2 separate regions of the Homo sapiens genome follow, and region 1 is linked to region 2. The links are contacts of gene promoters, found by promoter capture Hi-C in blood cells and fetal thymus (Javierre and others, 2016). All regions are on one chromosome and are shown on one strand. Each heading gives the region's core, a stretch centred on a gene start or on the middle of the fragment in contact. The rest is flanking DNA. Distances are from core to core; before and after follow the strand shown. Region 1 overlaps ARFIP1 (ARF interacting protein 1). Region 2 holds the start of FHDC1 (FH2 domain containing 1).

Region 1 (3,483 bases), core at 361-2,860, 87 kb after region 2:
ACCTCAACATTGTCATCTACCTTCTTTCCAGTCAATTTCAAATATTTATTGAAGACTTTGGCACATCTAGGGCTTCTGCTTTATCCCTAACTCTCACCATTAAACTGGGTGTTTCTAACCTTTTGCATGTTGGTGGGCACATTTTCAGGAAATGATTATAGATGTTCAGTTAGCAATTCCTTCCAAGCTGATATATTCGCTGTCTAGGCTGAAAGTTTTCACCGATCATTAAAAATACAGTCCACTAATGTTATGGTAGGTAGTAAGTTGCTATATTTTAAAATATAAATTGTAAAACACTTAAAATCTGTTCCATGAGCCTGCCTACCTATGCTGATGCAGAATGACAGGGGATAGTAATAATGATATGTAAAGGTATGTGATTTTATTTTCCCTCCGTATACTTGCAGAAATGCGTAAAATTGGTAATCTGGATCAGGTTTGGGAATCTGTAGTTGGACAACATGCCAAAAAAGTGTCAGGGCAGATAAAAGACATTTTAGACTTAGTATAACCCAATCTACACCTTAGTCTCAGATTTCATTAACATCTTCATTTCTAATGCCTTTCATCTTTCATACCCCATATTCCACTCAGGCAACCTAAACTCAAATTGCCACTCTTAGACCTTGTCATCACTTCGGAAGCAACACTTCTAGATTCTCACTTTAAATAAGTTTAATAACTCACTTTATGATCACAATATCCTCCTGTATCTTATTCCATCTAATCAAGAGAGTAAATCTAACATTTTTATTGATTTTTTTCCATTTACCACCATACACACACACACCTGCCTGCCACAGACACACAATTTCAATCTTCTTTTCTCCCTCTCTCCCATTCATTCAACAATATTTAACAAGAACTTACAAGTACCTTTTGGTGGTTCACTGCCTACCCTCTTGGCCTCACCCACTTAGTCTAGATTCTAAGTAGTTCAAAAGCTTGAATCATGTACCAACTTGCATCAAAGAAATACTGAATTCATTCACATACTATCACTGTGGAAATATTTATATGTATCTACATTCAAAATAATTCCTTCAAAAAATTTAAAAACGACATATTCCTAATAGCTTTTGTTTATAAATAACGACACACTCTCAGATTATAATTTAAGACAGATAAGCCTTCAACCTTTCATTATGAATTGTATTTTCAACAAAATTCCTCCAAGAAATAAAAAAAAACATATTACTAATAGCTTTTGTTTATAAATAAGGGCACACTCTCAGATTATAATTAAGACAGATAAGCCTTCAACCTTTCATTATGAATTGTATTTTCAACAGGACTCTCAATCCAGAATTAATTTAATGTATGTGTATATTAAAAATATACTTAAAATTTTAATTTGTAGTAATAGTATTAAAAGTATAGCCTATAGCTGAAAAGCAAACAGTATTAAAATGAATCTAGATTTGTATGGGTTAAACAATCCTTGAAAACCATTTGCCATACCTCTAAAAGGGATCAACATACATATTTGGTCAAAACTGGCTCTCTGAAAAAGCCCCCATCAAATCATTATTGCCATTGACCGAGCTACTACATTTTTTATGTGTGAGTAACGTGGAAACATTATATTGCATTCCTATATAGAATGGAGACAAACTGTAATCACATGCTATGAAAACCCTAGGGTAGGATGGCTGAAGGAGAAAAGATGTCAACTTTTAAGTCTATTTACTAGAATTCATTCTTTTATTGAGCAACTACTATGAACCAAAACTTGTGCTGTGTATACACACTATCTCTGACCTAACAGTGATTCCAATCTCTTGGGAAAAGGAGATAAATAAGTTACAACATGTGACTGGTGGGGGTAGGAGTTGGAGGAACAGTGTTCCAACAATTTCTTGTATTTCTTTCCCAAATCTTCTGCAGATCGTAGTGTATGATATTGCAGACTGCTAAGTACAAGGGAATGAAGAAACGACTTAGCTCAACAAAATCATTAAAAATAAAACTATAACAACAAAGACTCACACTCACAAACCCAAATACCACATGCAGGGAAATTAAGGACACAAGATGTATCAAATATAAGATTACAATATCTCTTCCCTGGTTTTTCAGAGAAGTCTAAAAATCTGGTTTCTAGTCCTCGTCCTCGTTCTTACGTGAATAAACATTCATTTATTCACCATTTATTGAAAGGCCCTCTTTGGTAGTAAGTGCCAAAAACTGTTACCAAACCCTGGAAATAAGGTAATGAAAGAGAGCGCTCTTGCACTCACTGCAGTTATAGTCAAATCACATAAGCTTTTGGTACAGCTATTTAATTAATACTGGGTAATTCCATAACAACTTCAAGGGCCTTTTTTCTCCACTATAAAATAACATAGTGAGACTCCGAGATCTCTAAGGTAGTTCTACTGAACGAATACTCTGTGATATCACTTAAAACTTACAGGTGGGGGGTTCTTAAGACTCAGGGAACCTGAGAACCCTTATGCAGGGTTCAGGGGGTCCTAAGCTCACTAAATCTGAATGCAAAATTTGGTAGGTTTGTGTATGGACATTTTGCTAGAGAAAGTGTTCATAGGTAAAAACACCCTACATTAGTGGATTTTTGTTTTGGGCCTTCCACGGGAAAAATTCCATTTTAGCTAGGTCTAAGGAGGCAATGTCTTTAAATCTACCAACTATAAATTAATTCACAAGAAGTTTCAACCATGTGGAGTTAGTATGATTTGCTTCTGCTCTTAAACTCATGGTATGAGTTGCAAATTTCTAATTAATTTTGACCAGCACTATAACAGCATCCATTACAAATACTACACACAGTTTACAAATCAGAGTAATTTGAATTATTTAGATTAAATTGTAATACTCTTTTTTAAAAGAATAATTTTTAAAAGAATAATTTTAAAGAATAATTCTTAAAATAATAATTTTATTTTTATTTTCTAAATAAAATGCATTTATTTAGAAGCAGAAATATTTTTGCTGTAAAAAACTGAGATAATACTAAGATGATTATCCTCTCCACATCTGGCTGTTGCTGCCCCATCTTAATAAAAAGAAGACACCGGGTGCAGTGGCTCATGCCTGTAATCCCAGCACTTTGGGGGACCAGGGCAGGAGGATCACCTGAGGTCAAGAGTTCAAGACCAGCCTGGCCAACATGGCGAAACCCTGTCACCACTGAAAATACAAAAATTAGCCGGGCGTGGTGGCACATGACTGTGGTCCCAGCTACTTGGGAGGCTGAGGCAGGAGAACAGCTTGAACCTGGGAGGCGGAGGTTGCAGTGAGCCGAGATCACACCATTGCACTCCGGCCTGGGGGCGACAGAGTGAGACTCTGTCTCAAAAAAAAAAAAAAAAAAAAAAAAGAACAAACCTAAAAACATTAACATACGAGGCAATGACTAAACTGCTGGCAAAGGGATTGCTAGGACAAAATCATCTCTACATAGATGTGAATATTGAGTGTAAAGCTAACCAGGGCCTCTCTTAGGACAGACTAAGAAAG
Region 2 (3,716 bases), core at 938-3,437:
GAAAAGGCTCCTCCACCACCACTTATCTTTCAAAAGCTTTCTTGATTATTAAACACAGAATGTCAGTCGGTACAATTACGCAGTCGGGCCAGAGCCGGACCGTCCAGCTCTTCTGTGAGTTCCGTCTGCCTGTGCTCCAGGCAGTAGTGAAAGAACCCAGGACAACGCGTTCCCAGTAAGCGCCTTCAATCTGCAGCACAATGTAAATATTCATAGGCGCCCGAGACCAACACCCGAGAGCAGAGGAAAAACGCCTGTATTTGAATGTTCATTTTCAGTTTCTCTCACTGTCCCAAAACCAAGAAAAAAAAAAAAAAAAGCACATGCGTGCCAAAGGATGCTCTAGAGAGAGGGAAGGGAGCGCCGGCTGCTCCTTCCAGGAAGACAACTGTGGGTCAGTTGAAGGGGGTCACAGACGGCCGAATCCCGGAGGTCGTTTCTGTCCACACGGAAGTTTGAAAACCGACCATTAAGTCCGGAAGAAATTCGGCCTGGGGGGTCCTGGGACACCACTTCTTTCAAGTTTGGATACGTAGTAGTTCACCAGCTCTCTGCGTTAGACAGCTGTCCGCAGCCTCCTTACATCCCCAACCCGGCACCCCGGTCCCCGCCCGAGCCACTCACCAACAAGCCACCGGCTCAGCCGCCACCGGCTGGGCCGCGAATCCCCGGGGAGCCGCGCTGGGGTCAGCAAACTGAACGCGAGTGGGCGGCCCACGGGCCGCGCGGAGCCCCAGCTGCGTCCTTATCAGCGCCGGGCAGAAGGGCGTCGCGGCGCGAGGGTGGGGCGCCGGTGCGCGCTGAGATCGACGCCCACACGCGCCGCGCCAGCTCTGCGGCGGGGAGAGAAGCCGCGGCCTGCGGGGCGGGGACTGCGGGGCGGGCGCCCAGCGCGGGCGTTGCACGACCCTCGGCCTTCCGCAGCGCCGACCGCTCTCCCGTCCGGCGGCTGCAGCTGCTGGGTCGGCCGCCGCACCCGCTCGCCCATTCCCGGCCCCTCCAGTTGGAGGGGGTCTCGGCCCCGCCCCCCTCCCCGAGGGGCCCACGCTGGAAAGCCCACGCTCCCCACGCCACGCCCCCCAGGGCGCCAGCCCCTCTGCGGGGGTTTAGCACGCTGCGCCCAGAAGTTGGGTGGGAGACGGCTAACTAGGGGAGGTGTCCGTGTGAATGAAACGAAAGGGGGGGTCTTCCGGCTCGCAGACACCGGGTCTGCGGCGGCCGCGCGCTCCCAACCCACCCGGAGCCTCCGCCGCGACATCTTCCCACGTCCCCCATCCAGGTCGCAGGCGCGGGGGAAAAGCCTCACGGCCGCACTGCGGCTCTGCCAAAAGGGAGCCGGGTCGAGCCGCTGAGAAAAACAGAGGGGAGACTCCTGGCGTTTGAAACCGGTCAGAACCCGCTCTCCAAGAGCTGGGGACACCCCTTGTTTGGAGGCTGATCCCCAGCCCACCCGCTTCCTCCCCCTCCCCACACTCCTGCAGGCGCGGGGCGCAACTTGCAATCCGAACTTCGCGCGGCCGGAGCAAGTTTGTCGGGGCGAGAAGCGCCTGGTCCTCGGTCCGCACCACCGCACTAGGTCCCCGCCACCGCCCCACCACTGTGTCAGGGGCCAGGCGTGGCCCCCGGCTGGCTAGGGAACCGAGCGCGGCGCCGCGGCTGCGCATTCCGTGCGGGACGCCGCTGTCTCCCAAGGGTCGGGATAAACTAGGGGGCGGTTGATCTGAAAGTCTTAGCCACGACTAATAGTCAACCGCCCAGGTGCGACCCGCAGCAGCCTTGGCGATGCAGCTCGTTCTCCAGACGCGGGTCCACACCGGCGCGTCCTCGCCTCCAGGGACCGATCGCTGTTCTCCGTGGCCGGGTAAGGGCGGCCGCCAAAGTCACCGGGGTGGATGTGGAGGGAACTGGAACCTCCTCTCCAGCTTTCCCGGTGAGGCTCGGAGGAAGCCGAGACCCGGCACCCATCAGCCGCGCTTCTCGGCGCCTCAGCCTCGGGTCCCGGACAACACCCCAACCCTGACCCTCCCGAGCGGCGGGGCTCCAGCTCCCCGTGTCCCGCGCCGCGGTCGCCCCCGCCTCGGCCGCCCGACCCGCACTCACCCGCGGCCAGCGCGCCCCCGCTCCCGGCGCGCAGACCGCTGCAGCCTCCCGCCGTTGTGTCGGCGTAGCCGCCTCCTCCCGGTCACTGCAGGCCCAGCCAACCCTGAGCGCGAGGGGGCAGGGCGGGGCGGGGCGCAGCGGCAGCCTCAGGTAACAAAGCTGCGGCCTCGCTGCTCCTGGCCGGCCGGGAAGGGCAGCGCGCCCTTTCCTGCTCCGCCCCTCCCTCGCCTCCCCTTCCACCCTACGCGCGCCACCGTCACCGCCACGCGCTCACCTTCACCTGCGCGGGGCCCCGGGGGAGACGCCTCGGGGCACACTGCTTCCCGCACCCGAAGGCTGGTGCGGGGCTAGGCCGGGGGCCACCGAGAGAAGTAGGGGCGGCAGGAGACGGAGATAGCTGGGCTGCCCAGAAGAGCCAGGTGTCCTCGGGGAACGGGCGAGAGGAGGCGCCAAGCTGGCTTCTGAACCTGCAAGTGCCTTTCACAAAGGAGCCTTTGCGACAGCCTCCCAGGCACCCTCTCTTGTGCACACGGGCGCGCACACACTCTTATATACACGCGCGCACACACACACACACACCCGCACACGCCCCCCGACGCACGCGCCAGACCACCCTCTGCCCCAACACTTGCTTCTCCCTGGAGAGCTAGCAGCACTTGGGCGAACTGACCTGTCCCAACCCCTACAGCTGAAACCTGGCTGCGCTAGAGCTTCGCAAAGGTCAGCTCCTCCCTGGGGCCTGCCAAGCTGTAAATTTGTTACCGTTTTTTATTTTGTTTTTGTTTTTAATTCTCAATGATGATGGTAACAGAAACCTTTAGGTTGTATTAAAGCGTAAAAAGACCCCTCAAAAATTTTGCCAGGCCTCATCGAATGAACGCACGCTGTCTGGGAAAGGCACACTCCTCACAGAAAGAAACAGGGGAATCGATTTAATCACATTTTTTTTTTCTTCAAAGTGACTTGGGGCGCCAGTGAGAAGCAAGTAGTCAAAGAAAACATCCCGGGCAAACCGGCTGACCGAAAATCCACTGTCGGGGTAGGGAGGCGCCCTCTACGGGGATGAAGTCATCGCTACCTTTGACTCTTTGATCCTAGATAACCGACCAAGACGTTTCCAGCCTAATGCCTGACGCCTTTTGCTTCCTCCATCCTGGTCCTCAGTCCCTGAACTCCCAGGACAGAATTCCTGACCTCCTTGGTCAAGCCTTGGATCGAGAAAGAGAAACTATTAGTGTAAACAAACCAATCAACCCCAAAACCAAAACTGTGCCTGCCAATAGCCCATTTCTTGGCCATTGATGGTGCATGAAGAGAAATGGATCCAATTAAGAAAATCTTAAAATCTTAAGGAATAAGAAAATGTAATAAAGAGAAAGACAATGTCATGCTCAGGGAGCTAATATGAATCCCAAAGGAATATTGACTGTTCAGGCTCAAGTTAAATTACAGCAGATCGAAAGTGAGGAGTTGAGTGGCATCTTCTTTTCTCTTACTGTCGACCTTGTTAAATGGGGAGTCCACACCCCTTGCCTACTCCTCCCTCCTCAACCCCGTGACAGTGGGCCTCCCCCCAACTGTATTGAGCATGCACTCTAAAACAGTTACTTTTTGAG

What was found. The method cuts DNA at HindIII sites, captures the fragments that hold promoters and counts their contacts. A CHiCAGO score of 5 or more calls a contact.
Region 1: a fragment that was not itself captured here is called in contact with the fragment with the promoter of FHDC1 in region 2 in 1 of 17 cell types (erythroblasts); the score reaches 7.9 in erythroblasts.

The regions. Positions count from the first base shown.
Region 1 is chr4:152,846,985-152,850,467 of GRCh38, reverse strand. All of the region lies in intron 2 of ARFIP1 (ARF interacting protein 1), which reads right to left. Among named protein-coding and RNA genes, the nearest start is that of ARFIP1, 69 kb to the right of the region's middle. RefSeq lists enhancers at 1-51, 2,763-3,263. The HindIII fragment of the contact is 1,321 bases long and covers 950-2,270 here.
Region 2 is chr4:152,934,794-152,938,509 of GRCh38, reverse strand. It overlaps FHDC1 (FH2 domain containing 1), which reads right to left and starts at 2,187. Exons shown (of 12, transcript NM_001371116.1): 1 at 2,101-2,187. It overlaps LOC729870 (a long non-coding RNA gene), which reads left to right and starts at 1,673. Exons shown (of 2, transcript NR_136614.1): 1 at 1,673-1,861; 2 at 3,060-3,716. RefSeq lists silencers at 550-809, 2,142-2,231. The HindIII fragment of the contact is 3,900 bases long and covers 39-3,716 here.